2 separate regions of the Homo sapiens genome follow, and region 1 is linked to region 2. Evidence: promoter capture Hi-C in 16 types of primary human blood cells and fetal thymus (Javierre and others, 2016). All regions are on one chromosome and are shown on one strand. Each heading gives the region's core, a stretch centred on a gene start or on the middle of the fragment in contact. The rest is flanking DNA. Distances are from core to core; before and after follow the strand shown. Region 1 overlaps ATF7-NPFF (ATF7-NPFF readthrough). Region 2 holds the start of ATP5MC2 (ATP synthase membrane subunit c locus 2).

Region 1 (4,878 bases), core at 412-2,911, 160 kb before region 2:
CTCCGTCTCAAAAAAAAAAAAAAAAAGATTCAAATATTGCGTCCTCTGTGAAGCCATCTTTGTTACCCTCAGTACATTAACTGTTTTATTCTTTGTGTTTTCACAGCATATATTCATCAAACATTTTACTGAGCATCATCCATGTACCAGGCATGGGTACACAGAGAAGAAAACGGGAACCCTATCCTTAGGAAGCTCCCAGTTTAGGGGCTTTTTAACTGGGATATCTATCCTTACCTCATCCACAGGTTTATATGACCCTATGATTCTCTCAGAGGTAGTGACAGTGTCTTATTCATCATGTGTCAGGTACTTACATAATATCTATACCACACAGCAGGAACTAAATACATCTTTGCTATAATGAATATGTAAGGCCGGGTGCGGTGGCTCACACCTGTAATCCTAGCACTTTGGGAGACAGAGGTGGGCAGATCACATGAAGCCAAGAATTGGAGACTAGCCTGGGGAACATGGTGAAACCCCGTCTCTACTAAAAATACAAAAATGAGCTGGGCGTGGTGGTGCCCGCCTGTAGTCCCAGCTACTCGGGAGGCTGAGGCAGGAGAAAAAAAAAGAATAAGTAGTTTAATGGATTAACTATGTATCAGAGTTCTTGCAGGGACTAAGTGGAAAACTGACCGTATATAGATTATATACTGATAAACAGTCCTTATCCTCTTTAGCCCATCAACAGGATTTGTTTTTTTGGTATTTTTTTAGACAGAGTCTTGCTCTATCACCCAGGCTGGAGTGCAGTGGCACTATTTTGGCTCACTGCAATCTCTGCCTCCTGGGTTCAAGCGATTCTCCTGCCTCAGCTTCCCAACTAGGTGGGACTACAGATGCACGCCACCATGCCTGGCTGATTTTTTTTATTTTTAGTAGAGATGGGGTTTCACCGTGTTAGCCAGGATGGTCTCGATCTCCTGACCTCGTGATCCGCCCGCCTCAGCCTCCCAAAGTGCTGGGATTACAGGCGTGAGCCACCGAGCAACAGGATTTAAAATCACTGAACTTCTTGAAACACTTTTTTATTTTGATTTACAGAATACCACATTTGGCTCTGTAGCTGGTTTTCCTCCTCACTTCCTGGTTGTTTCTTCTCAGTCTCTTGTGGGTTCTTTCTCATTTCTATGAACTGTAAATGTTGGAGTACCCCATGGTTCATTCCTGGGACTTCTCTTTTTCTAGCTCTGCTGTCTCCCTTGGGAACTTCATCTGGTTTCAATGCTTTAAAAACTAACTATGGCCAGGTGTGGTGACTCACACATGTAATTCCAGCACTTTGGGAGGCCAAGGCGGGCAGATCCCTTAAGTCCTGGAGTCTGAGACCAGCCTGGCCAATATGGCAAAACATCATCTCTAAAATAACAAAAAAAAATTAGCTGGGCATGGTGGTGCACGCCTGTGGTCCCAGTTACTCAGGCTGAGTGGGGAGGATCACTTGAGAGCCTGGGAGACAGAGGTGGACCCTGCCTCCAAAAAATCCCAAACCAAACAAAACCAAAACTAGCTATATGCTGCCGACTCCCAGAGTTTTATCTTCAGCCTTTCCTCTGAATTACAAATCCATATAACCAACTGACTGCTTGACATCTCCACCTGTAAGCCTAATAGGCTCCTTAAACTCAGTTTGTCCAAAACTGAGTTCCTGATATACCTCCCAAACCATTTCCCCTACACTTTACCCTATCTCAATTAATGACAACTTCATTCTTGTGGTTGCTTAAGCCAGAAACTTTGGTGTAATTTTTTATTCTTTTTCTCATATATACCATCCCATCTGCTCTCATCACTTTAACTTCAAAACATATCCTGGATTCAGCCTGCTCTCGTCACTTTCACTACCGTCATCCCTTGCTTGTATTACCGTAACAGCCCCTAAGTGGACTGCCTGCTTCTGCCCTTGTACCCCTGATGTCCTGTTCAAATGTAAGTCAGATCAATTTTTTTTTTTTTTTTGAGACGGAATTTCCCTCTTGTTGCCCAGGCTGGAGCGCAATGGCACCATCTCAGCTCACTGCAACCTCCGCTTCCCAGGTTCAAGTGATTCTCCTGCCTCAGGCTCCCAAGTAGCTGGGATTACAGGCGCATGCCACCACGCCCAGCTAATTTTTTGTATTTTTAGTAGAAGCAGTTTCACCATGTTAGCCAGGCTGGTCTCGAACTCTCGACCTCAGGTGATACGCCTGCCTTGGCCTCCCAAAGTGCTGGGATTACAGGCATGCGCCCAGCCTAGTCAGATCAATTATATCACTTTTCTGCTGAAAACCCTCTAATGGCCCCCAGTGTGGAGTAAAAGCTGAGATCCTCACCATGACTGATGAGACCCTACATAAAATGCTGCTATTACGTCCCCTACTTGTCTCCAACTACTCTCCACCCCCAACTCCAGCTGAGCCTCCTTGATGTTCCTAGATGTACCAGGTACCTTGCGACTTTGCATCTTTGCAGTTGCTGATCCTCCTCCCTATAGTACTTTTCTTCCATATAAATGCATATAGCTCCCTCACTTCCTTCAGGTCTTTATTCAAAAGCCACCTAATCTAAAATTTCTATCCTGCTGCTAACATTTCATATTACCCTTCCCTGTTTTATTTTTCTTCTAACATTTACTGTTATCTAACATGTCATATATTTTACCTATTTATCTTGTTTATTGTCTGTCTCACCCACTAAAATATAAGCTCCTCAAGGGCAGGGATTTAATCTAATTTATTTGGTTCCCTATTATATCCCCAGCATGAAAAACAGTGACTGGCACAGAATAGACATTCCATCAATATCTGCTTAATGAATGAATGCACCCTGAAGTACATATTAAAATTAAAATTTAAGTAGAGATGTTTAAAATTGGTGATATAGTTACTCCTTTTCTATGGGAACACATCTCTGAAATAATACAGTGGAAAAATAATACAATATATCAAAGTTTGAGAGCAATAGTTCTATGAATTTAATTTGTAAAAAGAAAACTAGCATTTATTAGCTTTTATTGACCATAGGCAAATTATTCACAGTAATTTTAACTTCAGAATTGCACATGTCCTGAGCACAACTCTGTGGCCATTGCCTTCTAGCAGTATTTTATGTGCACTCATAGATTACAAACTGAAACCAACGTCAGCCTATCATTAGATAAAATGTACCCTATATCCCAATGTATCATCTGTGGTTTATGTGTTTTCTAGGCCAAGACAGTATCTTTGGAATAAGAAATACCTAGATGTGCTGGGCGCGGTAGCTCATGCCTGTAATCCCAGCACTTTGGGAGGCTGAGGCAGGTGGATCACCTGAGGTCAAGAGTTTGAGACCAGCCTGACCAATATGATGAAACCCTGTTTCCACTAAAAACACAAAAATTAGCCAGGCATGGTGGCTGGTGCTTGTAGTCCCAGCTACTCCGGAGGCTGAGACAGGAGAATTGTTTGAACCTGGGAGGCAGAGGTGGCAGTAAGCCGAGATCGTGCCATTGCACTCCAGTCTGGGTGACACAGCAAGACTCTGTCTCAAAAACAAAAAAAAAACAACATAGATGTGCCGGGCGCGGTGGCTCACACCTGTAATCCCAGCACTTTGGGAGGCTGAGGAGGGTGGATCACGAGGTCAGGAGATTGAGACCATCCTGGCTAACTTGGTGAAACCCCGTCTTTACTGAAAACACAAAACATTAGCTGGGCATGGTGGTGGGCGCCTGTAGTACCAGCTACTCGGGAGGCTGAGGCAGGAGAATGGCGTGAACCTGGGAGGCAGAGCTTGAAGTGGGCCAAGATCGTGCCACTGCACTCCAGCCTGGGCGACAGAGCAAGACTCCGTCTCAAACAAAACAAAACAAAACATAGATGTAAATCTTGGCTTCACCACTTTCCCAGCTTGGTAACTTTGGCTAAATGACCTAATCTGAGTGCAGAGTGCAGTTTTCTCACATATAAATGTAGATAATATCCATTTCATGAGAGACTTGGGAAGACTGTAGCATGCCTAACACAAAATATGCACCCGGTAAATATTGCTACCCTTCAACCCCCAACTATAACAGATAATTAGCTCTATATCGTCTACAAAAACATTTTTTTTCTAGGTCTGGTTGCTCCACAAGGGCCACTCACTCATCAGCGTGGGGTCCCCAGAACATTCAGAATGGAGTTATAAAATTATAAGCAGTTGAGACACTCAGTACATGCAGTTTACTGACTGACTGACTTAGCTTAGGTTGTGTGCCACTCACCTAAATAGCCTTGAGTCTTTTTCTGTAGTGCAGTGACTGGGCAGTCTTTATGAGCTAACAGTAGCTGTTTCAACTGGGCCACCTCATTGCGTAGTAATGTGACTTCATTCTGAGGAGGGAGGGAAGAAAAGAGTATCAAGAAAATTCATCCTCTACTCTTGCACCCTCAGTGGCTGTTCCCAAAGGAAGGACAGAATATTGCCTCGATTTTCTCCCCTGAATTGGGACAAGACTCCTGATCCAGCAAGGCTTCACAGAGCCCAGGGCCAGTATAGTCATGAATTCAATGACAGGAGTTGCTTACAGTGAAAAGTCAGGATTTATAATAGAAACATTACTCCTGTTTAAGATAAATATGATTCTACTGAAATTAGTAATACACATGCTCTTTGACTAAGAAAGCCTACTTCTAGGAATCTACATAACAGAACTGTTTACTCAGGTGCATGCAATGTTCATTGCAACATTGTTCTAGCAAAAAATTAGAGCAGTATCAATATCCATACCTTATAACATCACTACACTACAGAATATACTACTATACAGCTATTAAAAAGAATGAGGTAGATCTCCCATATCCATGGCTAGATCTCCAGGAAACACTGTTAACCTGCTTATGTTAAAACAAGCACACAACCCCTCCAGCC
Region 2 (4,598 bases), core at 1,288-3,787:
GGGCGCAGTGGCTCACGCCTGTAATCCTAGCACTTTAGGAGGCTGAGGCGGGTAGATCACGAGGTCAGGAGTTCGAGACCAGGCTGACCAACATGGAGAAACCCCGTCTCTACTGAAAATACAAAATTAGTCGGGCATGGTGGTGCATGCCTGTAATCCCAGCTACTCAGGAGGCTGAGGCAGGAGAATTGCTTGAATCCAGGAGGCAGAGGCTACGGTGAGCCAAGATTGCGCCATTGTACTCCAGCCTGGGCAACAAGAGGGAAACTGTCTCAAAAAAAAAAAAAAAAGTATTAAATTGTGTCTCCCCAAGATCTAAAGAAGATCTGACACCCTATAGGTATCTAAGTTGGTAGAAGTGAACTTACCTCAAACAGAAGGTGAGTTAAAAACCTAAAGGCAGGGTTTCTCCAAGTGAAGTGAGAAGCCCATCTGAACTAGAATTATCTGGGTGGTGTACGTATTAAAAAATGCATATTCTTGGGCGCAACTTGGACCTTCCTGGTCAAGATCTCTGGGGGAGCTAGGTTCAGTGGCTCATTCCTGTAATCCCAACACTGAGAAGCTGGGGCGGAAAGATAACTTGAAGCCAGGAGTTTGAGACCAGCCTGGGCAAACATCAAGACCTCATCTCTACAAAACATAAAATTAGCCAGGTGAGGTGGAAGTGCACCTGTAGTCCCAGCTACTCCAGAAGCTGAGGCAGGAGGACTGCTTGAACCCAGGAGCTGGAGGCTTCAGTGAGCTATGATCACGCCAGTTGTCCAGTATGGGCAACAACGTGAAACCCTGTCTATAAACAAACAAAAAAGATCTCTGGGAATAAGGCTCAAGTGCCCTGTATTTCAAACAAGTTTCCCAGATGATTATTAGGTATACTTAACGCAAGAGCGTGACCCTAAACCCAGTCTTGAAACTGTGGTAGTGGTAGAGGATAGACTTGAACTTGGATCTTTTAAGTTACATGCTTTCTAATATGTCACAGGCTGAAATACTCAGTGAATGCTTAGGGCTATTAAATACCACTTCATTAAATGAACTGAACTCAGATTGTCCCAGGTTAAAACACTTCTGAATCCAACATCTTAATTGCTCTTAATTTATTTTTTGCCCAGGCTATTGTGGAACTCCTGGCATCAAAAGATCTTCCCACCTTGGCCTCCCAGTGTTGGGATTACAGGTGTGAGCCACCACACCCAGCCTTAATTACTTTTAAGTTAATGGATGTCTTCAACTCTTGTCCTATCTAGAACTCTGATTTTTGCCTATATGTAACTCTAACCCAATTTTGCTGCCGTACTATTCAGGTTTTCTTGGGTCAAAATCCAATAGTTCTTTAAGGCTTTTAGAAAAAGAAGGGGTGGTTCTTTTCTAAGGGAATTATACCTTATTATCTTCTTTGTAAAATGCAGCTCTTAGGGGGATTAAGTATGTTCATTTACAAATTAACATACATAAAGAGTTTAATGTGGTGCTGGCATATAATAAACCCACAACAAGGGGTGGCAATTAAGTGATCCCACCATTGGCTATCTAACCATGGCAACTCTGCAATTGTTAGCCTACAACTTGGGCAAAGGCACTATCCAGAATCAGGACTCCAAAATCATCACGGGCTTTTTCCTCAGTGTAGATGAGTCACAGGGGTAGTAACTTAACTATTCCTTTCCTTAAACCTTCTTTTCCTTGTAACAGCAGAATCTGGGGAGGTTAATTAATCCTTCACAGGAAAGCTGGCAGGCAGGGTCTCATGCTGGCCCCACTAGCTTGGCCTTACCCCACCTTTCTGGGCCTGCTGCCTCAACAGAAACCCTCATCTCTAGCCCACCATTTGTGACTTTTACAACTTCACCAGCGTGCCGGGATGCGAGAAAGGTACTGGTAAATAACTAGTGATTCCAAAGCAACCAGCCTCTCTCTTCTGCCTTAGCTATCCCAAGCCACAACCTAACGGGAGGCGATGTTTTGGCTTTTTTTCCCACTTCTACCATGTTCAAGGTTTACTTTTTAAATTGAGGGGTGCTGACTAGAGGGATTGGTGACTTTAGACGATCCACTATCTCCATTGCTCGGAGCACCTGAGGTTCTGGGGCCTAAAGTCTGGAGATTTCAGAATAAAGAAGGCACAAGTCAGGATGAGAAGAGAAAGCAGAGATAGGAGGGGAGAGCCTGGGGGTTGTCACAATCTGAAAGGGCCAGAGGGCGAGAAAAGAGTGTTTGCAGGGACTGGGTGGAACAGGTGAAAAGCAGCACTCCAGGATCTAACTTTGGCCAGCTCCAAGGTATCCTCCCCCTGCGAGACATCCAAGATGGCGCCAGGCCCGCGCGGTTGGAGGTCACCGGCACGCGGAAGAGCCAACTCTAAGGCTAAGGGATAGCGGAAGCAAGAAAGGGCGAGAGGACCAGGGTGGGAGCACGCAAGGTAAGCGCCTCAAAGCATCCGCGCAAGGTGAGGTGTCCCGCGCGCGTGCGCAGCGCACAGAGGGCTCTAGGTCCCAAGGCCTTACCTGCTCCCACTGCAGAGAAGACAGAGAGGGGCGGAGCAGCGGGAAGAGCGAAAGGAAGGCTCAGCGCATGCGTGACCCGGGCCAACGAGTCGCTCAGCCACGGATAGAGTGATTGCAACATACAGGATCAGCTCAGGCATCACAGCGCCGCCTGCCAGGGCTGTGGCGGTATCCGGCCGGTTGCTCCACCTGGCGTTCGAGAGGAGAAACTACAGGGAGCGCCGACTGCAGAAATGAGGCCAACTCCGCGGAGTAAGCCGATCCGTAACGTGGACTGCGGTTTGGTCTGTACCGCGTTTGGGATCTCGGACTTGCGTCCCCTTTCCGAGCATGCGCAGTCGTCACACTGCCAAAACAAAACTCCTACTCAGAATTCAGTGTTAACATACGGTCGGGATTGGGGTTCAGTGCCTAAAATGCAGCAGGAGGAAGATCTTGGGAGTCCTGCTTTCTGTCGCGCCGGGACTCTGGCATCACTGGATGGCAAACCGGCTCCATGGGCGAATAGTCAGCAAAATGCCGCAGCTGCTTCTGGTGGCTTCGCCCTTTCCCCCACTCCCCGTTTCCTCCTTTCCATTCCGGTGATAAACCATGAGAGAAGCAGCATCAGCGAGCCAGAAGATAGGGTTAAATATGATCCGAATCCCTCTTTCCTGGCTCCTGGGACAGTCTAGGAATAACGGGCACCTGCGACCCGCTGTAAGGTTGCGAGGTCACTCCAGGCTTGCCCGAGCCTCTGCTCAGGTTTCAACTACGCGAGTTGGGATAAGCAGCGCCCTCCCCTCCCGCCCCCATGCTCTCCTGAACGTGGGTTTTCTCTCCCCTTTCGCTCGCCCTTCCCCTGATGGAAGGAGGTGGGGGAGGCTTCCTGGCCCTCATCTTTCCTAGGCCTCCTTGTCTCCCAGACAGGACCTGCCCTGCCCTTTGGAACAGGGCGACAAGGCCTATCCAGTTCCAAACCCCTGCCGTCCCTGCATCGTGCTTGAACGCAGCACGAGAAAGACGGGAAAAGCTCACCAAACCCCATAAAAAATAAAAAATAAAAAGAAAGCCGCGGCTGTAAATAAAGGCAAATCCGCCACTCTCTGAGGGGCCGTTTGTCCTCCCCTCCTTGGCCCCGTCCTTCCCGCCGCCCCCTCCCGGCTCCCGGGCCCCGCGGCGCCCCGGCCCCGAGCTCCTCCATTTAATCGGATTTGGGAGAAGGGGAGGATAAATCACGGCAGCAGCTTTACGGTCCCGGAGGAGAGGCGAGCCGCAGACAGGCACACCCCGGCCGGCGATAAAAACCGCCGCTGAAAGCCCACGGAGCAATTTCCCGGGACCCCGAGCGACGCCATTACAGGAATGTAATTTTGCCCGGATGAGGCCCCGAGTTTAATTATCCTCGCGGAGGAATTTCAATGCGGCCAATCCATCTTGCAGGCGGGCGGCAGAGGGATTTATATGGGCCCGTTATTTCACACCGATCCTCCATCTGCATTTTTATGGCCCTGAGCTCCTGAAAGGGAGGGGAAGGAGTGGGGAGAAATAGGAGAAGCGGGCGAGAAGAGGAGGGTGGTAGACTGCCTGTCTTTCCTAAATTCGCATTTCCAGCTCCATCAGGATTCTCACAGGTTCCTCTGAAATCCCCAAATCTCCAGTTTTAGTTGTTGATTGCGCCCCGAGCGGGCAGGTACGTGGGAAATGGAACTGGGATCTTTGGGAATCAATCAACAGGTATTTATCAAGTACCAAGTGGTGCCAGGCACTGTGGAGATGCTGTTAGGAGAAAGACAGGCTAGCAAAGACACAAGTTTATCCCCTGAGGTCTCCAGACATCTCCATTCCCACCAAAACGGAATTCTTTTAAGCTGTCAGCTTCACATCCTCAGTGGCAGAGAAAGTCCACAGTTCTTAGGAGCCACCACCCCCAAACGGCTGTTGCAGCTGTTGCGACAATTTAGACACTCAGATATGGCTAACAATCCCAGAGGAGGATCAGAGAAGGGGCCTGGGAGGAAGCTAAAGCTGGCTCTTTCCAAAAGTTGTTACAGCCTGCGATGTTTAACACTCCCTTGCCCTCATAGAATAATGGGTTCTGCGTTCAGACAA

Evidence for each region. Contacts are between HindIII fragments. The CHiCAGO score rates a contact against its expected background, and 5 or more counts as called.
Region 1: a contact is called between a fragment that was not itself captured here and the fragment with the promoter of ATP5MC2 in region 2, in 3 of 17 cell types (megakaryocytes, endothelial precursors and M2 macrophages). The highest score is 7.2, in megakaryocytes.

The regions. Positions count from the first base shown.
Region 1 is chr12:53,519,045-53,523,922 of GRCh38, forward strand. It overlaps ATF7-NPFF (ATF7-NPFF readthrough), which reads right to left. Exons shown (of 15, transcript NR_159377.1): 11 at 4,232-4,340. ATF7 (activating transcription factor 7) reads right to left here. Exons shown (of 12, transcript NM_006856.3): 11 at 4,232-4,340. Among named protein-coding and RNA genes, the nearest start is that of ATF7-AS1, 7.5 kb to the left of the region's middle. The HindIII fragment of the contact is 8,402 bases long and covers 1-4,878 here.
Region 2 is chr12:53,673,546-53,678,143 of GRCh38, forward strand. ATP5MC2 (ATP synthase membrane subunit c locus 2) reads right to left here and starts at 2,538. Exons shown (of 5, transcript NM_005176.7): 1 at 2,508-2,538. RefSeq lists enhancers at 2,240-2,689, 2,800-3,029. The HindIII fragment of the contact is 5,549 bases long and covers 1-4,598 here.